Regions from separate parts of the Homo sapiens genome. Here regions 1 and 3 are each linked to region 2. Evidence: promoter capture Hi-C in 16 types of primary human blood cells and fetal thymus (Javierre and others, 2016). All regions are on one chromosome and are shown on one strand. Each heading gives the region's core, a stretch centred on a gene start or on the middle of the fragment in contact. The rest is flanking DNA. Distances are from core to core; before and after follow the strand shown. Region 1 has its middle 1.7 kb from the start of FXYD1. Region 2 holds the start of MAG (myelin associated glycoprotein). Region 3 overlaps FXYD5 (FXYD domain containing ion transport regulator 5).

Region 1 (2,700 bases), core at 138-2,637, 160 kb after region 2:
TCCTTAACAGGGCTGTTTTAGAGGACGGGAGGGAGGTGTGTGTGTGTGTGTGTGTGTGCGCGCGCATGTGCGCTATCTGCTGTGGTGAGATCCCCAGAAATGCACCACACACACACACCCACACACAATCCCAAAGACCCAGATATACAGGTACAAAACCAGACAAAACCATGTATGTATGTACATCCATAGAAGCAGACACACACAGAATGACACACTGATAGAGAAACCCAAAGACCCGGACACACAGCCAACACCTTTTATGCCAGTCACAAAATACCAGAACAAGCACATTTATGTCTACACAGACCCACGCACGCTCATGTAGATGGATGGCCACACAGAGATACAGTCAAAGACATAGCCACATCACCATCTACACTCACAAACTGGCCACAAAAATGCATGTTTATGTGAAGACCCACCCACAAATGGCCATACAGAAACACACAAGTATGTGCACACCGCACATAAATGCATTCTAAGATGCATGGCCAAACATGGCCAGGTACGGTGGCTCACACCTGTACTCCCAGCACTTTGGGAGGCCAAGGCGGGAGGATCACTTGAGGCCAGGAGTTCAACACCAGCCTGGCCAACCCGACGAGAGCTCGTCTCTACTAAAAAAATATACAAAAATTAGCTGGGTGTGGTGGCGTGCGCCTGTAATCACGGCTACTCCGGAGGCTGAGGCAGGAGAGTCACTTGAGCCCGGGAGGCAGAGCTTGCAGTGAGCTGAGATCATGCCACTGCACTCTAGCCTGGGCAACAGAGCGAGACTCTGTCTCAAAAACAAAAACAAAACAAAAAAACCCCAAAGGTACAGACATGCAGCCAGCACTCCTACATGGTCCCAAAGATAGGAAGGCCAACAAGCTTGTGTACACACAGACAGATTTCCATGGGCACAGATACACAAGCAGAAACACCATCAAGGACAACCCGCCGCTCTCACACATACCCACAAAAGCAGAAACACACACACTGGTTCACACCCTATGCTTGAGCAAACAGGCACATGGTTGGCCACGGTGACAGATGCGCAGGCTGACACACTTGCATGTTCACACATTCCAAAACCACAGATATGTATTTAACCCCACACTTTCCTTCCCCTGAGCTCTTGTCGGGGACAACACACCTGGCGTCCCCATGGGCAGGCCAGGTTTACAGGTCCTGGTGACAGGGAAACCTGGAATGGCCCAGGCACTGCACTCCTGGTTGTGTGAACTTGAGCAGCTCTGTGCCTCATTTTCACATGCTCCAAAATGGAAAAATCACTAAGATCACGTGTATAATCCTGGACAGGGCTCAGAGGTCTCTGAACTTGACATTGTCTTATGATTAACTTCATTTTTTGTTTGTTTGTTTGAGACCGGGTCTTGCTCTGTCACCCAGGCTGAAGTGCAATGGCACAATCATAGCTCACTGTAGCCTCAACCTCATGGGCTCAAGTGATTCTCCCACCTCAGCTTCCTGAGTAGCTGGGACTATGGGCGTGCGACACCATGCCTGGCTAATTTTTTAATTTTTTGTACAGTCGGGGTTTCTCTATGTTGCCCAGGCTTGTCTTGAACTCCTGGCCCCAAGCGATCCTCCCACTTCAGCCTGCCAAAATGTGGGATTACAGAAATGAGCCACCGTGCCTGGCCTATTATTATTGTCCTTGTCATCCTCCTCCTTGTGAACTGGACTGCTGGGCTGGGCACCCTATGAGAGTGGGTTCAGATCCCTCTGTGCCCCTGGCACTCAGCTCTCCAACTTCACTTTCAGGGACCCTGTTTATCATACCCAATAGTCAGTGAAGGAAACTGAGAGCTGACGGGCATGGCTCAAACCACAAGCTGCTGGGGTCTGCTCCTCTAGGAGCTGGATCCGGAGCCCACCCCCAAGCTTGCCGACCACTGTGGGATGCCCACCTTGTGCTGAACCCCAAAAGGATGAGTTGCCTCCATCACCTGAGTCCTCTCCACAACTGGGAAGCGGGTGCCACGATTGTCCCCGTTTGACAGATGGGAAAACTGAGGCCACACAGGACTGGGCCTGGAACCCAGATCTGCATGACCTCCAAGCTGTTAAGCCCCCTTATCCTCCAACGAGGCTTCTGGGCGTGGGCGTCAGTGTCAAGAGAGGCTGCATGCATTCCTCAATCACAGGATGAGTCTCGTCCCCAGGCGATGAGGTGGTACAGCCTAGGGGTTAGGTTTAGAGCTGACTAGAGCCAGGAAACTAATCACATAACTTCCCTGTGCCTCAGTTTCCCCATCTGTAAAGCAGGGATAGCAGTACTGCCCATCTCACAGGGTGGCTGTGAAGGCTGAGTGAGTATAAACATTACTACTATTTCATCTTAGCTAACAAGTGTCATTTACTTATGTTTCTTATTTAGTGGACAGAATCTATCCAAATGACTAAAATTTAGTCCAGATTAAAACAACCAATTATCCATCTATCCATGAACTCTGATCTCCAAAGAAAGAATGCAAAATAACCTGGAGCCGGATGCCTGGGTTTGAATCCCGGCTGTGCCCTCAGCTGGGTAACCTAGAGTTCAGGTTCCCTGACCTCTGTCTCCACTTCCTCCAGCTGTAAAGTGGTGATGATGACAGCACTAACTTCAGAGGGCTTTGGCAAGATCAGAATGAGTTAATAGATGAGCTTTTAGGACAAGGCCAGGCTCAGAGTAGACGCTGAAGAAGG
Region 2 (2,700 bases), core at 85-2,584:
GCCCCAGCCAGAAGGGGCAGGCACACGCAGCGGAGACTCATACAGACACCCAGACAGGACCCTGAACACACAGACAGGCACAGGGACCCCTGTGCCCACAGGGATGGGCTGGCACTCACATAGTTCCCAAGGCGTGCATGCAATGCCTCTGCTGCTGTCCACACACACCTGGACAGACACAGCCCTGGCATTCAGCACACACACACACACACACACACAGCCCAGCATGCATGCCAGGCTAACAAAGATGCAAGGAACTGCACACACACACTGAGGATGGCTATAGACGCGTCCACTCAGACACGCGCCGATGGACACCTGGCCGACGCTGCCCTTGCACCTGTGACAGGAAGGTACAGGAGAGAGATGCAGATGAGGATGAGCACGTGCCCGGGCAGACATGAAACAAGCAGGTAGACCATGCACTCTTAACAGCGGGGAAAACAAGTTCTCGGGATGGGGGCCAAATCAACCTCAGCTATTACAGTGTGTGTGGCCACAGTCCATAAACATATGTACAGCAGATCTGTTGGATTAAAATGCCAAGGGAAGGATGGGATGAGGACAAATGCATCTAAAAAGTTTCTGTAGTTGGGGCCGGGCGCAGTGGCTCACGCCTGTAAACCCAGCACTTTGGAAGGCCAAGTTGGGAGAATCTCTTGTGCCCAGAAGTTTGAGACCAGCCTGGGCAATATAGTGAGAGTCCCGTCTCTTAAAAAAAAAAAAGTAACGAAAAATAAAAAGTGTCCTTAGTGGGGATTAATGAAGAAAAGTCGACTGAGGCTTACAGAGGAAGGTGCATGGGCAGCCATGTGTGTGCACGCACACGCACACACACACACACACACACCTGCTATGTGCCCAGGTGCTAGAATGCAGTCACTAACAGCCCACTGCCCCCATCCACCTCCCAGATTGCAGCCTGCAGGTGTCTGATCACCTGGACATCCTTCCATTCTTCGGCCAGATGCAGACCTCCTCCACCCCATCTGCCCCGCACTCGGGAACCCCAAGGAAACCTCTCCTGCAAAATCTTCACCCACAAGGGGTGCTGAGGGGGGGCCCTTTGTTTTTTCTCTCTGTGGTTTCTTCCCAGAGCCCCATCGCTGCCCCAGCGATGGTCCGAGCCCATCCCCAAAGCAGCCCCAAGCCACACACTCCTGCATCCTAAATCAGTAGCGGTGCACAGCGATGCTCCCTCACCCAGAGCACCTGACCCTGCTCACGTCTGGGTGCCACTGCCCCGGTGCCCTGCTCCCCTTGCCCTGGCCTCCCTGCCACCATACTCACTTGGACTCAGTTGCTTCTGCACCTCTGCTCCGCCAGCCCAGCTCGCAGTCCCCTGCCTTCCAGGGTCTAGGCCCCCACTTGCCAGCCCCTCCCCTCCCCCTGGGTGCCAGGGGCCGCCTGCCTCCAGGGCCCAGCTCCTCCCTACCCCCGGGGGAGGGGGGCACAAAGGGGCCCTTGTCACCACGGGGCTCGGACTGGGCAGCCTGACGCCTGGGTTCTCCTAGCTCTTTCCTGGAGGGGTCGGGAGTGGCTGCCTTGCTCTCTCCCCATCTTCCATCCCTGTACACCCTGATTCTGGGTCCCGGGGGTGGGGGGGCAGTCTAATCTCTTTGGAAGTCCCAGGCTGAGGGACAGAGGCATTGTCCTCAGGGAATCTTGGTGGCAACATTAGGTGGGCAGCAGGAGGAGACAGGTCCTTTCCACCCTCAACGTCAGTGTCACCTCCTCTTGCCATCTGAAATGACCTTCCGTGTTCACCAACTCCTTTCATGAGAACGTGACCTCCACCAGGCCAGAAGCTTCGTCTTGGATATTCTCAATCCATCCTTGCTCGTAGACAAGCTCCTGGCAGGCAGTTGAGCTTAATAAACAGTGTGGGTGGTTGAATGTGTTCCCCAGAGCCCCAGGGCACCTTCAGACTCAAGGCCTGTGCACCTGCTGCTCATTCTTCCTGGAAAGCAGTCCCCACCCCATAGCACTCCCCACTCTGGCACTGGCTGCCGTTCACCCATCCTGTAGGCTCAGCAGCCTGGGTGCCGCTTCCCTGGGAAGCTTTCCCATCTTCGCCCATCAGCCAGGCCCCTCCATTGCAATGCTGTCCTTTCCTTCTGTAGCCTTGGCAGGCTGGCCCGTGTGCACCCTAGGTCTGCCCGCCTCTGCCTCCCACTAACCCAGGAGCTCTCAGAGGCAGGGGCTCACCAGAAACCTATCTGCCTCTCTGTCTGTCATGTGCACCCTTCTGTCCCCGGGGCAGTGCTTGGTGCACATAGGACTGTGCTGACCAAGTTGGGCAAGGACCCTCTGAGTGCAGATTCCACCCCTTGGTCATGACTTTTGCAAGGTGGGTGGGGGCTCGGGGCAGCTGGAGGTGGCGTGACAAAGTGCAGCAGTGATTTCACCATGAGCTGTTCAGCCTCACTGGGACATCTCCTGTCCTCCTTCAGGCCAGAGCAGTGGGGAGGGGGGGTCCTCGCTCTCAAGGGAGAACCCAGGGGGTGAGGGGCGGGGAAATCCCTCAGACCAGGGAGAGAAGCGTTGTGGGGCTGGGGGGGAGTTGGAGGGGGAGGGGGAGTCCCACCCCCACCCCAGGCTTCATGATGTCAGACTCTGCCCGTGCCTTTCCCAGTCCGGGACAAAGGACCATTGAGAGTCGGGCGGGGCTTGAATGCCTGGGTCCTGGAGAAGAGAGGG
Region 3 (2,700 bases), core at 67-2,566, 130 kb after region 2:
CAGAGAGCGTCGTGGTGTCATCAGTGGGATGAGCTGAGAGAGTGGCCAGATCAGTGGAGGGCAGGAGTGAGCCATGGAGGCAGAAACAAGGGATATTACTGAGAGTCTGCATCTGGAAGAAACCCCTCTCCCACATCTACACAGCTGGTGTGCAGGGTCAGGCATCCCCCCTACTCCACACCTAGAGGCAATAAGTAATGACAGGCATTGAAATGCTGAAATAAGCACATAGCCCCGGTTGCGACTATCTGATCTGCCTCAATCCCCGAGGGACTCCAGACCCCTCTCCTAGGACCTTCTGGCCCACACTATAATCCAGGAGATAAAGGAACGAAAGGGCAACACCTGCCAAGGACTCTGACCCAGCTACATAGTCTGGAGAAACTTGTAAAACATTCTGAATATTGGCTGGGTGCAGTGGCTCATGTCTGTAAACCCCAGCACTTTGGGAGACTGAGGCGGGCAGATCACCTGAAGCCAAGAGCTCAAGACCAGTCTGGCCAACATGGTGAAACCCCGCCTCTACTAAAAATACAAAAATTAACTGGGCCTGGTGGCACACACCTGTAATCCCAGATACTTGGGAGGCTGAGGCAGGAGAATTGCCTGAACTCGGGAGGTGGAGATTGCAGTGAGCCAAGATTTCGCCACTGCACTCCAGTCTGGGCAACAGAGCAACACTCTGTCTCAAAAACAACAACAACAACAAAACTATTCTGAATATCACCTCTGCCCCCAGACCGAAAATACCAAAGGATTCTTCTCTTGAAAAAAAAAAAAAAATCAGTACCTCCAAAGAAAAGGCCTCCCCCAAGCACTGAGAAGTGCCCCCACACCACATCGGAGGCCTCAACAAGAAGCCAGCAGACAGAGAAGCTCCCTCGTGAAACCCAAGTTCCCTGGAATTATCTCAGTGCCCCACACCCTAAATAGGAACTGGCAACCAAGGATTACAAGATATTCAGGGAATGCATTGCCCAGAGGAAGGTATAAGCCAGATCCACGGCAGAGACCACAGGAATGCGAAGGACAGCCATACTGGTGTGTGGTGCTCATGCACCCTGGGGTGAGACAGTCTGGACTCAAATTCCGGTTCTGCCACTCTTGGCTGTATTGCCTAGGGCAAGCTGAGTAACCTCTCTGGGCCTCAGTTCCTTTTCCTGTAAAATGGGAGTAATGACAGTTCCCACCACACAGGATGATCACAAGCATCAAATGACTGAATACACAGAAGCTTAGCACAGTGCCCAGCATGAACAAGCTCTCAGCAAAAGTCAGCCATTGCTATTACTGTCTGCTCAGCACTCTTCCTCCTTCTGGAACAGCTCTCCCTTTCTTTGTGGGAAGACATTGCCCTCCCTTCCCCAGTTATAACCCAGGCTACAAAAGGAAGCTTGTGACCTCAGTCTGGTCCTTCCCTGAGACCTTTGAAATCCCAAGTAGGGATATTGAGTGACAGCTAGGTACTATAGACTGAATTCTATCCACCCCACCAAATTCCATGTGATGGTATTTTGGAGCGAGGGCCTTTGGGAGGTAATTAGGGTTAGATAGGATCATGAGGGTGGGGCCCTCATGATGGGATTAGTGCCCTTATAAGAAGACACCAGAGAGCTTGCTTTCAAGCTCACAAGCCCACCCACACATGGAGAGGACATGGTGAAGACAGAGCAAGAGAATGGCTGTCTGTGACCCAAGGGGAGCCCTCGACAGACACCAACCCTTCTGGCACCTTGATCTTGGACTTCCCATCTCCAGAACCGGGAGAAATGAATTCCTATTGTTTAAGCCATCCAGTCTGTGGTATTTTGTTATCGTAACCTGAGCAGATTAAAACCCTAGGTGAAGTCTGGAAGTTTTGAGCTAGGAGGCTCAAATAACATGAGCCATTTCCTTCCTAGGTGGAAGAGAAGCAAAGATAGAGGAGGAAGAGAGGCCCTGGGGGCTTTCATGCCCAGCCTCTAGGCAACCCAGAGGCTCAGCAGTGACAGCCATTTGTCCTTGATGAATTTCTGTCACATATATCCAGGAACATGGACCAATACATAGAGCAACTCAGGTCAGCAAAGACTCAGTAAATTAATGCAGTGATGTGAGAATGCTTTATCATTGATAAGTGTGGACACAGCTGCTATCCCCCACCCCTACAGGTGCACTTTTGTACAAACTAGAAAAGTTCCCTTCTGTAAAGCACTTTATTTCCATCCATTGTAGGATTGTTTTAATAGATAGATTCTGTAAGAATGAGATGCTTTGCTGCTATCACTAGAAAACTGGAACAATTATAAAGACCGACAAAGGGAATGGCATTGCCCGAGAGGTGGTGCTCTCGTTCAGTACCCAGTCTGCACAACTGTACATGTCTCTCTGGGAGTGGCCTACTCTACAACACTTTCCAGTGTGGGGCTGCCCCTCAAATAAGGATCATCACGCAGGCATTAGAGGCGATCTGTTGCCTTATCTCAGCTCAGTCTCCTTTCCCACACCTTCTGGTAATACTAACTCACTTGTCCAAAGGAAAATCCCCTCTTCCCTGACTCTTGGTCTATGTGGTTCAGGCATGGCTGGCTGAGCCTCTTCTCTAGCCCCAGGGTGGGGCACAAGACTCAGGCCTGACCAATGAGAGCAGCTCATTTCTCAGGCTCTCATTGGTTCAGACATGAGCATGTGACTCCAGCTGAACCAATGAGAGTCAATTCT

The links. Contacts are between HindIII fragments. The CHiCAGO score rates a contact against its expected background, and 5 or more counts as called.
Region 1: a contact is called between a fragment that was not itself captured here and the fragment with the promoter of MAG in region 2, in 2 of 17 cell types (total B cells and naive CD8 T cells). The highest score is 7.8, in total B cells.
Region 3: a fragment that was not itself captured here is called in contact with the fragment with the promoter of MAG in region 2 in 8 of 17 cell types (naive B cells, total B cells, monocytes and 5 more); the score reaches 9.0 in naive B cells.

Annotation. Positions count from the first base shown.
Region 1 is chr19:35,135,733-35,138,432 of GRCh38, reverse strand. It overlaps a transcript of FXYD1 not described here. Among named protein-coding and RNA genes, the nearest start is that of FXYD1, 1.7 kb to the left of the region's middle. The HindIII fragment of the contact is 1,017 bases long and covers 879-1,895 here.
Region 2 is chr19:35,290,795-35,293,494 of GRCh38, reverse strand. It overlaps MAG (myelin associated glycoprotein), which reads right to left and starts at 1,334. Exons shown (of 11, transcript NM_002361.4): 1 at 1,291-1,334. The HindIII fragment of the contact is 16,958 bases long and covers 1-1,810 here.
Region 3 is chr19:35,161,489-35,164,188 of GRCh38, reverse strand. It overlaps FXYD5 (FXYD domain containing ion transport regulator 5), which reads right to left. Exons shown (of 9, transcript NM_014164.6): 6 at 1-33. Among named protein-coding and RNA genes, the nearest start is that of FXYD5, 8.1 kb to the right of the region's middle. The HindIII fragment of the contact is 159 bases long and covers 1,237-1,395 here.